Regions from separate parts of the Homo sapiens genome. Here region 1 is linked to region 2. Evidence: promoter capture Hi-C in human tissues and cell types (Jung and others, 2019). All regions are on one chromosome and are shown on one strand. Each heading gives the region's core, a stretch centred on a gene start or on the middle of the fragment in contact. The rest is flanking DNA. Distances are from core to core; before and after follow the strand shown.

Region 1 (6,938 bases), core at 1,622-4,121, 260 kb before region 2:
ATCAGTGGCTTAACTCATTATTTTTTATCTCATGGTTTCTGTGTGTCAGGAATCTATCACAGCTTAGCCATGTAGTCTGGCTCTGAGTTTCTCACACTGGCTGCGGTTGCAGTCATCTTCAGTTTCCACTGGGGGGTGCATTTGCTTCCAGGCTTATTCGAGAGGTTGTTGGCAGGTTTTGGGTCCTTACAAGCTGTTGGATTGACAACTTTGGCTCTGCAGAGTCTGTTGGCCTGGGTCCTTCCCGGGTTCCTTACCATGTAGGCCTGTCTACAAGGAAGCTCACAACTTGGCAGCTGCCTTTATCAGCATGAGCATGTGAAAGGGCAAGAGAGAATGGGAACAAGAGGAATCACAGTCTTTTGTAATTTAATTTCAAAAGTAACATGCGGCCCGGGCGCAGTGGCTCACGCCTGTAATCCCAACACTTTGGGAGGCCGATGCAGGCGGATCACCAGAGATCAGAAGTTCGAGACCAGCCTGGCCAACATAGCAAAACCTCGTCTCTATTAAAAATTTAAAAAAATTAGCTGGGCATGGTGGCAGGCACCTGTAATCCCAGCTACTTGGGAGGCTGAGGCAGGAGAATTGCTTGAACCTCGGAGGCGGAGGTTGCAGTGAGCTGAGATTGTGCCACTGCACTTCAGCCTGGTCGACAGAGCGAGACTCCATCTCAAAAAAAAAAGAAAAAAGGAACATGCTCTCACTTTGCCATATTCTAGATTAGAAGCAAATTACTAGGTCCAGCTCAGATTCAAGGGCAGCAAATTAAACAGGACATATTTAAGAAGTGGGGGTCACTGGGATAGTTTTAGAAGGCTGCCTACCACATTTGCCATTTATTATTATCAGAGATGTATAAAGGTTGTATTTGATGATGATAAAAAAAATTCCTGTTTCATAAAAATGAAACCAATCTCGGCCGGGCGTGGTGGCTCATGCCTGTAATCCCAGCACTTTGGGAGCCCAAGGTGGGCGGATCACAAGGTCAGGAGATCGAGACCATCCTGGCTAATACAGTGAAACCCCGTCTCTACTAAAAATACAAAAAATTAGCTGGGCATTGTGGCGGGCGCCTGTAGTGCCAGCTACTCGGAGGCTGAGGCAGGAGAATGGCGTGAAATCAGGGAGGCAGAGCTTGCAGTGAGCCGAGATCGTGCCACTCCAGCCTGGGTGACAGAGTGAGACTCCGTCTCAAAACAAAAAACAAAAAACAAAAAAAGAAATGGGGGTCTTGCATGGTGGCTCACGCCTGTAATCCCAACACTTTGGGAGGCCAAGGCAGGTGGATCACCTGAGGTCAGGTCAGGGGTTCGAGACCAGCCTGGCCAACATGGTGAAACCCCCGTCTCTACTAAAAATACCAAAAATTAGCCAGGCGTAGTGGTGGGCGCTTGTAATCCCAGCTACTCAGGAGGCTGAGACACAAGAGAATTGCTTGAACACGAGAGGCGGAGGTTGCGGTGAGCCCAGATCGCGCTGTTGCACTCCAGGCTGGGCAACAAGAGTGAAACTCCTTCTCAAAAAAAAAAAGAAAAGAAAAGAAATGGGGGTCTTGCTATGTTGCCCAGGTTGGTCTGGAACTCCTGGCCTCAAGTGATCCCCCTGCCTGTCCTCCCAAAGCACTGGGATTACAGGTACCCGGCCCCTGCTTTAAGTTTTAAGACACACCTGGGGACTCCAGCCAAGTTTTGCTTGAGAACCCTGTGTTGAGGTCCTACTGGAAGCCATGCAGTGGGGCTGGAGTTCCCTTTGTGTCTGTCTCTCATACATCTCCTTCAGGTAATCAGTTAGAGAAGTAACTGGCCATCTGCCTGGCCAAAATCATCTACCAGCACCCTACCCCATCACAATCCCATCAGAGGGAAACTCTGATTGGTTTCCCTTCCTGTAAAGTCCAACTATCCCAACCTGGAGAGCTCTTCTCTCTCCTCTCTGGAGATCCAATTCAAGCCACTCCTCTTCTCTGAAACCTTAGAATTAAATGAGAAGATGAGAAGAGATGTTTCTTTGTAAATAGAATTGCCTGAGGGTCAAAGAGGCCTGTAGTTGAGAAAACAAGCTAAACAGCTGGAAAAAAAGACAGAGGGAAAGGATGGAGTGTCAACTACTGGTTATAAAATTTCTCTTCTTCTTGGCAGGGATTGTCTCTGTGGGGATACAGATGCATCTAGCTGCTGAGCACACAGTAGGTGTCCAATTAGTCTTTGTTGACAGTGTCCCTGTAGTGGTTTTTAAATGCTCACACATTCCTTGATATTCTTCCCTTTAATAGGTAGAGCCTAACTGCCTTCCTTTGAATGGGGGCTAGACTGACTTCTAATGAATAGAATGTGGCAGAAGTGACAGTGTATGACTTCTGAGGTGAGGTCAGAAAAGGCATTGCAGCGTCTGCTCTGTTCTCTCCTGGACGATTTACTATAAGGGAAGCCAGCTGCTATGTCATGAAGACTCTCAAACACCCCTGTGGAGATGCCCACGTGTAGAAAGACTGAGGCCTCCTGCCAACAGCTGGCACCAACTTGTCAGTCCCATAAGTGCGCTGTCTTGGAAGGGGATCCTCCAGCCCCAGTCAAGCCTTCAAATAACAACAGTCCTTGGCAAAAGCGTGACTGTAACCACAGCTTGACTGAGCCAGAACCACCCAGTCAAGATGCTCTCAAATTCCTGTGAGAAGTAACATATGTTTATTGATATTTAAATGACTAAGAGGAAGGGAGCTGGAGAGACATTTTGGGAGGAAGAGGTTTTTGCTTCCTGGTTCTAGTGTGCTTGATTGACAGGCTCCTGCTCTGCAAACAGCTTTCAGTGCCCAGTTCCCAGAGTAACCAGCAACACCCAGTGGCTAGCAGCTTCTCCTGGCACTGTCCACCTTGGGCTGTAGTGTAAGCAGAATACCTCCAACTTCTGCCTCACATACCACCTGCGTGCATGTGGCTTCTGCCGCATCAGGCTCCTGCAGCACCCACAGGTACTCCAGTGCCGCCTCCCACAGCACATGAAGGCCAGCAGCACCCAGTGGGAAGCAGCTTCCCCTGCACACCCCACTCAGTTAGTTCTGTAGTCGAAAGTCTCTGGTTCCACACCTCCTTGGGAAAGAGCTTTCCCTGGCATCCTAGAGGGCATATTTCTGGCAAGTTCCACTGGCATGACAGTACAGTGACTTTTCTGCCACCTAGTGAGCTGTGGGCTGTGCTCTACTCAACAAGGTCTGGATCTCAGCCCTGGGTGGGGAGAGGGTATCTCTTTCTTGGGTGCTGTATCTTGGGAGGTAGGGGCTGCTCCTCATGTCAGCTATTCATTATTCCATAGGGTTCTCATAACTCCTTACTAAACAATTCTTTGTTACTCCAATCCCCTGTTTTAATAATCATATTAAAATTTCCTGTTAAATTACTGTGAGGTTTCTCTCTTGATCAGACCCAAGCTGATACACAAGTTTTCTCATAATTTGTTACATGGCAGCAGATAATACACCACTCCCATCTGATCTTCCCACTGCCAATTCCTTTCATTACCATCAGCCAATTGCCATTATCATGTGCCTGCCCTGAGCAGGCTCTTCCTTCAAGGTTTTTTTTGTTTTTGTTTCTGTTTTTGTTTTTTTTGAGATGGTGTCTGGCTCTGTCGCCCAGGCTGGCATGCAGTGGCGCGATCTCCGCTCACTGCAAGCTCTGCCTACTGGGTTCACACCATTCTCCTGCCTCAGCCTCCCGAGTAGCTTGGGACTATAGGCGCCCGCCACCACATCCAGCTAATTTTTTGTATTTTATTTTTAGTAGAGATGGGGTTTCACCACGTTAGCCAGGATGGTCTCCATCTCCTGAACTCGTGATCCGCCCGTCTCGGCCTCCCAAAGTGCAGGGCATGAGCCACCACGCCCGGCTCTTCAAGGCTTTGGTAAGCAGTCAGATATGTCCTACTGCAGGCAGGCCAGGCACAGTGACTCAAACCTATAAACCCAGCACTTTGTGAGGCCGAGGCAGGCAGATCGCTTGAGGTCAGGAGTTCGAGACCAGCCTGGCCAACATGGCGAAACTTGGTCTCTACTAAAAATACAAAATTTAGCCAGGCATGATGGTGCGTGTCCATAATCCCAGCTACTCGGGAGGCTGAGGCAGGAGAATCGCTTGAACCTGGGAGGCAGAGGTTGCAGTGAGCCAAGATCGTGCCACTGCACTCCAGCCTGGACAATAGAGCAAGACTCCGTCTCAAAAAAAAAATTAGCTGGGCATGGTGGTGGGCACCTATAATCCTAGTTACTCAGGAGGCTGAGGCAGGAGAATCTCCTGAACCTGGGGATGCAGAGGTTGCAGTGAACCAAGATCATGCCACTGCACTCCAGCCTAGGCGACAGAGTGAGACTCCATCTCAAAAGAAAAAAACCACAAAGAACAAAAAACATATGTCCTACTGCAAAAAAGAATAAAAGAACAAGGTATATAAGATTCAAGCTTTAATTTGCCAAATGCCAAGTGAGAGGTTCAGATGAGAAGTGCTGCAGGGTGCACCAGAGGCTAGTATGCTTGAAAAAAGATCTAGGCTGCAGTGGGACGTCAACTTTGATGACACTAGAAGGCACAACCCAGTTGGAAGAAGAGGGAAGGCCATTCTAGCATTCTAGGCAGCAGGAAAGTTGTATCAAAAGTAAGCCAGGTGCGGTGGCTCATGCCTGTAATCCCAGCACTCTGGAGGCCGAGGTGGGCAGATCACCTGAGGTCGGGAGTTTGAGACCATCCTGGGCAACATGGAAAAACCCCGTCTCTACTAAAAATACAAAATTAGCCAGGCATGGTGGTGGCGCATGCCTGTAATCCCAGCTACTTGGGAGACTGAGGCAGGAGAATCGCTTGAACCCAGGAGGTGGAGGTTGCGGTGAGCCGAGATATCGCGCCCTTGCACTCCAACCTGGGCAACGAGCAAAACTCCGTCTCAAAAAAAGGAAAAAAAAAAAATGTTTGGAGGCATCTTCTCTTTATAATAGTAATTTAAAGAAAAAAAAAGAAAACATGTTTGGAGCAAGAGTACACATGGTATGATTAGGGCAGCAATGACTAGTTTGCTCCAGTTTGGCTGGAGCAGAGATGTGGCACAGTAGGCTTGTGGCAGGCAAGAGGATCACACTGTGAAGAGCCTTGAATGCAAAGCTAATTCATTTGGTTTCGTCATGTAAAAAAGGGGTCCAGTGACCACATCTTTGAGGACAAAACTCAACCTTTTGCTGAGAATACATTTATACCTGTCAGATCACGTGACTTTGCTTTGATGCCGAGAAAGATTTCACCATGGCAATGGGGAGCCCCTGAAGGTTTTTGAGAATGGTGCCATGTGTGATTATAAAATTAGCCTGGAGTGCGTAGGGCTGGAGAGGATGGAAACCAGGAGGAGGAAAAGTCAGGCCCAGTGTGGTGGCTCACACCTGTAATCCCAACACTTTGGGAGGCTGAGGAAGGTGGATTGCTTGAGCTCAGGAGTTTGAGACCAGCCTGGGAAACATGCAAAACCTCGTCTTTACAAAAAAAATACAAAAGATTAGCTGGGCGCGGTGGCACACTCCTGTAGTCCCAGCTACCCAAGGAGGCTGACGTGGAAGGACCACGTGAGCCTGGGAGGTCGAGGCTGCAGTGAGCTGTGTTTGCTCCACTGCACTTTAGCCTGGGAGACAGAGTGAGACCCTGTCTCAAAAAAAAAAAAAAAGAAAGAAAGAAAGAAGTAGGCAAGTCCTGATGTGGAGGACAGGGCAGTAGCAGTGGAAATGGGGGAACTAGGTGGATGTGGTGGGGAGGAGAATTTGAAAGTGATGCCCAACACCTTGTTGGTGACATGGGCACACATGGAGCTGGTCGAAAGGAAACGTCGGCATTTGACAAGTTCCACTGGGGTGGCTGCAGTGTATTCAGCAGCAAGAAGGAGCAGCCTCAGGCCTGAACTCAGGAGGGAAACAAGGGATGCTGATTCAGATCTGGTAGTGACTGCCCACTCATTCTGGGAGACAGTGACGGGGTTGGCCTCTCTATAGGCTCTGGCTCTTTCTCATCAGCCCATCCTCATCAAGAAACACCCTCCCTCTTCCACCTGAGTGATATGACCTTGGGCCAGGGATTAAGTGGGGACAGATTTCCTTTAAGTACTTCAGTCCTAAACTGGCCTCTAAAATCCAGAAGCATCAAGATCCTCCTCAGTTTCCATAGGTTTGGGCTTAGAATCCATGACCCACTCTTACGGGGCTTGGACCGAAGAATGTGAGGGCAAAAGAAAAGCTCAGTAGTAGGAGGTTCTAATCCTATTTCTGCCCTAGACCAGTCATGTGACCTTGAGCAAGTCACTTTTCCATTTTGGGTTTGTTTTCCTTTCAGGAAAATGCCAGGGTTGGTCCTGGACGAGACTAGTTTTCAAATCCTGCTTCTGAAGAACACCGGGAGCCCGTGGCTGGACCAGGTTCTTTGTCCTAGATCGAGCAGTCTCAGGCTGGGAATAGCTCCAACATTAGGTTTCTCTCCCGTAGCATTTTCTTAAACCGTTAGCAATCCTTACTGTTTCCCAGCAAGGATTCACAGATAAAACAGTGAATGAGGGCTGGGCGTGGTGGCTCACACCTGTAACCCTAGCACTTTGGGAGGCCAAGGTGGGGGGATCACGAGGTCAGGAGATCGAGACCATCCTGGCCAACATGGTGAAACCCCTTCTCTACTAAAAAATACAAAAAATTAGCTGGGTGTTGTGGCGCGCTCCTGTAGTCCCAGCTACTCGGGAGGCTGAGGCAGGAGAATTGCTTGAACCCGGGAGGCAGAGGATGCAGTGAGCTGAGATTGTACCACTGTACTCCAGCCTGGCGACAGAGCGAGACTCCGTCTCAAAAAAACAAAAAAAACAATGAAGGAACAACTGGGAAACGCAAATGAATGGGGAATTGGAAAATGGATGACCATATTTGGTTT
Region 2 (6,854 bases), core at 1-2,500:
GACCCCAGCAGCCCCTCAGCGCCCCCAGAGCCCGTCAGCGTGGGGGAAAGGATTCAGTGGAGGCTGGCAGGGTCCCTCCAGCAAAGCTCCCGCGGAAAACTGCTCCTGTGTCGGGGCTGACCTCTCACTGCCTCTCGGTGACCTCCGTCCTCTCCCCAGCCTGGCACAGGCCGAGGCAGGAGGAGCCCGGACGGCGGGTAGGACGGAGATGAAGAACATCTGGAGTTGGAGCCGCACATCTGGTCTCGGAGCTCGCCTGCGCCGCTGTGCCCCCCTCCTCCCCGCGCCCCAGTCACTTCCTGTCCGGGAGCAGTAGTCATTGTTGTTTTAACCTCCCCTCTCCCCGGGACCGCGCTAGGGCTCCGAGGAGCTGGGGCGGGCTAGGAGGAGGGGGTAGGTGATGGGGGACGAGGGCCAGGCACCCACATCCCCAATAAAGCCGCGTCCTTGGCCAAGCGGAGCGGTGGTTCCTCAGCGCGTGCGGAGAACGAGGCGGCAGGAGGCGTCCGAGGCGCGAGCTGGAAGTCTCAACCCCCGTCCCACTCCTGCCCAGGCCCCGGGCGCTCCCGCGTCCCCTCCCCGCGCCCGTCGCGGGTCCTACCGAAACTCGGCGGCCGCACAGCGTCGAGACGCCCCCCGTGGGGGCCCGGGGAGCCGGGGCGAAAGGGAGGGTCCCGGAGGTCGGGGAAGAGGGAGAAAGGGAGAAGAAATTCGAGAAACTAGCCACGCGGGGAGAACCAGACAAACCGGGTCCCGGCAGGGCGGGCGCAGCCGCCAGGGCGGAGCCGGGTCTGGGGCCCCGGGAGTGGGGGGCAGGCCCGCGAGCTGGAGGGTACGCTCCGCCTTGGCGGCTCGGGACTAGGGTGGAGGGGCCGGGAGCCCCGGGGCCCGTGCGCTCCGGCTCTGCCGGGCTCCTCGTGACGCGGCACCCACGGCCCCCGGCACCGACGGGAGCCCTGCCCGCGAGGCGAGGGCTCCGCCCTCGGCCCCGCCCCAGGCCGGAGCCCCAAATTCCGGCGGGTGCCCGGGAGCGGGGCGAGGCCCGGAGCGCAGGGGGAGGAAGGCAGCTCCGCACGGGCGGGCGAGGAGCGGGGCGCCCAGGCGCGCGCCAGCCGGGGTGGCCGGGTCGCGAGGCCGCGGGGTAGGCGGCCCGAGCGCGGCTGGACGGCCCCGCCCCTCCCGGCCAGCACCGCCCCCTGCGCGCCCCGCCCCCTCCTTCCCGCAGCCCCCACCCCCGCCCCGGCTCCTCAACACAAACTTTCCGTCCCGCTCGCTCCCTCCTCCGCGCTCGGCGCCTCCCGCTCCAGCCCGGCTCATTCCGCACATTCCGGCCAGCCCCCTCCCCACGACCCCCCTTCCCCGGCCCCCCTTGCGGCTCCCTCGGGCCCGGCGGAGCGGCCCGGCCGGAGCGCCCCCGCGAGCTCGGACCAGGTAAGCCGGGCGGACGCCGGGAGGAGGCCCCGCTCGGGAGAGGTGGTTTGGTTGGTCGGCTGGGCTGGCTGGGGGGGCGACACTCGAGGGGGACTGGGTCCCCGAGCTATTGTCCAGCCGGAGCTGGAGCCCCGGATCGGGGTGCCGGGAAGTTTAGAGGGAAGGGGGAAAATCTCTCCGGGAAGCCCCGCCCCCCGCCCTCCCCACCCCCCCGCGACGGGGACGAGTTGGTCCGGGAAGGTGGGGAAGCCGGGGAGACCGTGTCCCCTGTGCCGTCGCCTGTCCCGCCGTCCGTGCTTGGGGGGTCGGGGCGGGGATCCGGGGGCCGCACAGTGTGGAGGGCCTGCCTGCCACCCTGGAGCTCATATCCGGGGCGCCCAGTCCCGGGCCCCGCCGCCCTTTGGACTCCCGGCCCGCGCGCTCCCGGAGCCCGCCCGGCCTCAGCTCCACGCAGGCCTCGGGCCCGGCCTCCCAGCGCCCAGGCCGGTTTCTGCGCGCGGTGCCGCGGCTGCGCTGGGTTGTGGAGGGTGTCTGGGACCAAAGCCGCGCGCCCCGGCCGTGTGTCCCCTGAGAGGCAGGGAGGGGCTCACGTTCCCTTCAGTTCTGCCGCCTGCGTCGGGGTGCTGATTCAGAGTTCCAGCCCTGAGCGCTGTGAGCTTGGCTCGGAGGGGTCTGGATTTGGGGCCTTTTCTTCCCCACACTTGCTCAGGGCCCTTGTTTAGACTTGACAAGGTTTGAGGGTGGCTGGTCTCCCGCTTCCTACCCCGGTCCCCACCATTGTCTGTCATGCCCTTTATTCCTGCTAGGGGAGGGAGGGCTGGGAGCGCTGGTCTGGATCTGTTTTCCAGCCCAGCTGGGCCCTGGGGCAGTGTCATTGAGACCCCGCTCTGTCAACTTTCCTGGTGAGGGGCCCTGATCCAGGGCTGAGAGATTCTTTCAGTGCGAGGGGGAAGGAGGCCTTGGGGCGGACTTCTCAGGGGCTGTCTTCTTCTGTGTCTTCCCTCTTTCCAGGTAGGGGCAGAACCAGGTCAGGCCTGGACTTGTTGTCCGGAAGAACAGGGCATAGGGGTAGGGGCTGGACACAGCTCAGAGGGGCTGGTGCCCATAGCGGCTCTGCGTATCCAGTCTCTTGTGGCCTGGTTCTCTGTACACATGTTCCACCCCAGTGCTGGGGCCACCTGGGGCAAGGAGGGGAGGCTTTCCTCAAAAGTTGGAGATTTGGGGGAATTATGTCCTCTCCCTTCTAGACTCCTGTAGCCCCCCTCCCACCAAGACCCCTCTCGTAGGGGCACTCCCTAAAGGATGTGGTTCTGTGGTCTTCTGGGTCCCTGCTCACCCAGTGGGCAGAGTGCACAGATCTTCCAGGACAAGGCTGTCCAGTAAGGGTAACTTCAGGGGCCCTGGATGCCCCCTCCTCAGGGAGAGGGTAGGAGCCAGTATGAGTCCCAAGCTCTTGGGCCTTCCCCTACCCCCCCAGGGAGGGAACGTCATTAATGCTAATGAGCGCATCTGGGCTGGGGAATGGCTTGTTAGAGTGGTCAGTGGTTGCCAGGACAGAGCAGCACATTAAGTGTACAGAAGCATCACATGGGTCCTGAGCCCTGCTCCCATCCTCACCCAAAGGTTTGTAGACCCTGGCACTTTCTGCCAACTGAAGGAATGTTAAAACCGGGAGGATTTGATATTCTCAACAATATCAAAGGAGAAGATATCTCAACAGAGGTGGTCAAGAAATAGGGATCTGGTCCCCTCCGGACCTTTAACCAGTTGCGCCATCTTGGCAGGCCCCTTTGGGCCTCAGTTTCCCTGCTTGGAATGAATGACTTCTCAAGTCCCTTTTCTCTGAGCTCCTCCCAGAGTCTGTCTCCCAGTTTGCCTTCCTTCTCCCATGATGGAACCTGAACTTGGTGGGGTCTGGAGAGGCGGGTGGGTGATCCAGTGGCCCAAAGAAGAAGGCAAGGACAAACCAAGGGGTGACTGAGGAGTAGCTCAGCCAGATGAACAGGGCTGAAAAGGTGGCGGGGGGCAGGTGTCAAGGGACAGGGGGGCTTGGTGGATTGGGGGATCTTGCCTCTGAAGTGGTCATGGGTTCTGTTAGGGCTGAATGGCACAAAGGGTGCTCAGAGGCCGCTTGGGTGGCTCTACCCTCTGCCCCACTCCCAGACACCTGTGGGGGTCCCAGGGCTCAGTGTGGAAATCGCTGGTCCTGCCCTCCTCCTCCTCCCCGCCCAGGATGGGGAGAGGAGCCCAGGGGTCTAAACGCTGCAGCTTTCTGTGAAGGGGCTAGGAGGTCGCAGCCTCTTCTTCCCACATGGGGGCTGCAGAAGCTGTGGGGTCCCAGGGGTGGCCCTGAGGATCTGCCTCTGGGTAGAGCTGGGGAGGTCAGCAGGTCACACTCGGCACTGTCCCTGGGGCCTTGCCCTGCCTTCCCTCCCCTCCCCTCCTGGTGTTGTGCCAGCCCTGGGCTGTCTGCAGAAGGGGCCACTTCCCTCCAGGGAGAACCCTGCCAGGGAAAGGGCTCTGCCTGTCTTCCCCGACCCACAGGAGGTTGAGGTTAGGGCCAGAGAGGTTCATCCCCCTGCACATCCCTAAAGCCTCAGCCCTTGGGGTTTCCTAGAGTGCCGATTGTTTCCTGTGCTCCCTGCCAGGCCTGAAAGGGCAGGAAGTGTTAGAGGGAAATGAGAATGCAACTGTGTGTGACGCTGGATGTGTGTGAGAGAAGCCATGAGTGGGACATTCTATGTGGGTGAGACTTGTCTTCTGTGGGGCTGGATGTGTGTGGAAGAGAACCTTGGTCAGAGCAACTTGTGCAGGGCTGGGTGTATGCAGGAGAGAAACTGTGGCTTTGTGACATTCGTGTGTGTGACAGATATACACGTCCATAAGAGAAACTGGGTGACTCTTCATGTGTCCAGGTGTGCCGCCACCTCTGTACCTGAGAACCTGCATGGGGGATGTTCTGTGTGTGCCAGGGCATCACCCAGGATGTGCCGATGAAGGAAGCTGGCTGCCTAGCCATCTGTGTGTACCTGGAGATGACACTGGGTGTGGCTCTGATGCTCAAGTGACCTGCGTGTGAAGGACACCGCACTCGCACGATGCTGTGTGTATGTGAGCGCGCGGGCGCGTGTGCGTGAGAAGCCGGATGAGTGGCGATCTGTGTGATGTGTTACGCTGTGGTGTGACCACTTGTGACCTGCATGTTGTGACGCAGCATGTGAGATGGCCTCAGGTTTGTCTGTGTGTGACTTACATGTGACACTACATGCGAGTAAAACAACATGACCAGCTCTGTGTCAGTATGATGTGTGTACCAGCAAGGTGGGCCCCATCCGACATGTGCCAAGCATGAATATGGTATGCGGTGTGTGGGTGACACTGAGCACCAGAAAGCGACACCGTATGTGAGAGAAACCGTGGGGCGTGACTGATGCTGGCGCTGTGGGTGGGTGGTCACTATCTGAGCGTGTTTGGGACTCTCGGGTAGTGTGGGTGACACCCCCAGGGCTGTGCCAGGCAGGGCGTGTAGGAGGCTCTGTGGGATGCTTTTGGGGGCCTGTGGTCCCTGACGTGTGGCATCTATGTGGAAGACAATGAGAAAGACACTGATAAAAACAAAGAAGGAATGTAATTAATGCCTCTCAATTGTACACTTAGAAATGGCTAAAATGGTAAACTTGATGTTATGTATATTTTATCACAATAAAGACATTTTTAAAAACCCAGCAGGAGAGAGATGCGGGTAACAGTGAATGAGCAGGACAGTGGCTGTGACGCAACTGTGTATGCGAGCGAGAGGAAGGGCGCAGAGGAAACCTATTTGTTCTTAGATGACACCGTGACTCTCATGAGGGCACTGACTGAGTGGCTGGTGGGAGCCCAGTGGGCGACCCAGAGTACCAGGAGTCTGGCATGGTAACTGAGAACTGAGAAACCCAGTGACCCCCTATAGTCTGTCTCTCACTGGATACCTGAGATTCCCACCCTGGGACCAGGACAAGATGAGGAGATAAGTCAGTCCCAGGGAGGGGGTGAAGGGAGGTCTGGAAACTGGGCCCTTCTCTCTACAGGGGACTTGAGGGCTGAGTCTCCACCCTCCTACCCGCTATACTGCTTCAGGGAGCAGGAGCGTGACAACAGATGAGATGAGCTTTGCAGAAGGAGGCCTGGGGGGACTATCCCAACCCCCTCTGCTCCCTGAGAAAGCCCCTTTCCCAAGTAGTGTGGGGAGGAGGGGCAGAGAATCTCCAGTCCCAAATTGGAAGCACATTAATAAGCAGGGCGGGGGGTGGGGAGAGAGTGGAGGGGCCCCCACCTCCCTCCTAGTGGGCTCTGCAAATTGCTTCCTCCTGTAAAAATTGAGACCCTGTTCCAGGAAGGAGGGAAGCCCTCCCCAGCCTGGCAGGGTGTGGCTGCTTGGCAGGGTCCCTCCGGGGTCCTTGGGCTGGAGGTGGGGGAGACAGATACATCCCTACTTGCTCTGCTGCCCCAGAGCATGGCTACTTCTAGGGTGGGAGCTTCTGGCAGCTGGAGAACAGCTGGCCCGCTGTGGGGCGGGTAGGGGAGGAGGGAGGAAAAGGCAGAGAGGGTGGGAGCCTCCCTTAGCCCTCCTCAGCTGCCCTCCCCATCCTCGACCCCCCCGGCTGGTCAGCCCAGCTCAGGTTTGAGGGCAGAGATTTGGGAGGAAACTGCTGATTTCACTGATCTTGCCACATTTTGAGTGATGTTCTCACTCCAAGTGAGAATGCTTTGGGGGCTGGGGTCCCTGCAGGGGTGGACTGCTGGCTGCTAGACCCAGGAAGGTCACAGCTCAGCTCGTCCTCCCAGCAGGGCTGGTGCAGGGGAAGGGGTAAGACAGGAGGTGCCCACTCACCCAGACTGGCTTTTTCTGTGCCTCCTACCAAGGCAGTGGCTCTGGGGCCCCTAAAGGGAGCTACAGGGCTGGGTGGTCTGGAGGCTGCAGGGTCTGTGGGGGTGGGGGACCAGGGCCTCTGCAGCGGCCCCAGCTCCAGCCTGATCCCTGGAGCTGTCCAGCCAGTTCTTCCAGCAGGTCTTGCCCCAGGGTGGGGGTGGGCAGCAAGGTGCCCCTTATCTTCCCCAGGGCCCCAAAGCCTGCTCACCCAGCCTCCTAGCCCCCATCCCTGCCTCCACCCAGAGGCCTTCTGAGCCTGAAAGGCTGAGGGCCCTGGGAGAGGGGAAGCGGGTGTGGCTGGTCAGGATGAGGGTGAAGGCAGACTGAGTCCCCTGGGGGTCTGCAGCCTGCTGGCGGGTTTGCAGGACAGGTACAACAGGACTCCTCTGCAGAGGCAGATGGGAGGGGTTCTGAGAGGAGGTGGAGGGTAGGAGCCCCTGAGATGGGAGTGGGGGTGTCCTGGATGGTGGCCAGCCCCAGCCCCTGGCAGTGGCCTCCCTTGTCACTCCCT

The links. Contacts are between HindIII fragments. The study calls those that stand out against the background at their distance.
Region 1: a fragment that was not itself captured here is called in contact with the fragment with the promoter of TEAD3 in region 2 in 2 of the 25 tissues and cell types used here (mesendoderm cells and spleen).

Annotation. Positions count from the first base shown.
Region 1 is chr6:35,750,848-35,757,785 of GRCh38, reverse strand. No RefSeq gene overlaps it. Among named protein-coding and RNA genes, the nearest start is that of ARMC12, 17 kb to the right of the region's middle. RefSeq lists an enhancer at 1,969-2,558. The HindIII fragment of the contact is 8,297 bases long and covers 1-6,938 here.
Region 2 is chr6:35,491,475-35,498,328 of GRCh38, reverse strand. It overlaps TEAD3 (TEA domain transcription factor 3), which reads left to right and starts at 1,250. Exons shown (of 13, transcript NM_003214.4): 1 at 1,250-1,431. TULP1 (TUB like protein 1) reads left to right here. Exons shown (of 15, transcript NM_003322.6): 15 at 1-455. The coding sequence ends at 2. LOC124901309 (a long non-coding RNA gene) reads right to left here and starts at 196. Exons shown (of 2, transcript XR_007059561.1): 1 at 122-196. RefSeq lists enhancers at 1-343, 344-1,274, 2,221-3,006, 5,432-6,005, 6,006-6,581 and 1 more and silencers at 743-1,072, 1,083-1,212, 1,393-1,442. The HindIII fragment of the contact is 31,199 bases long and covers 1-6,854 here.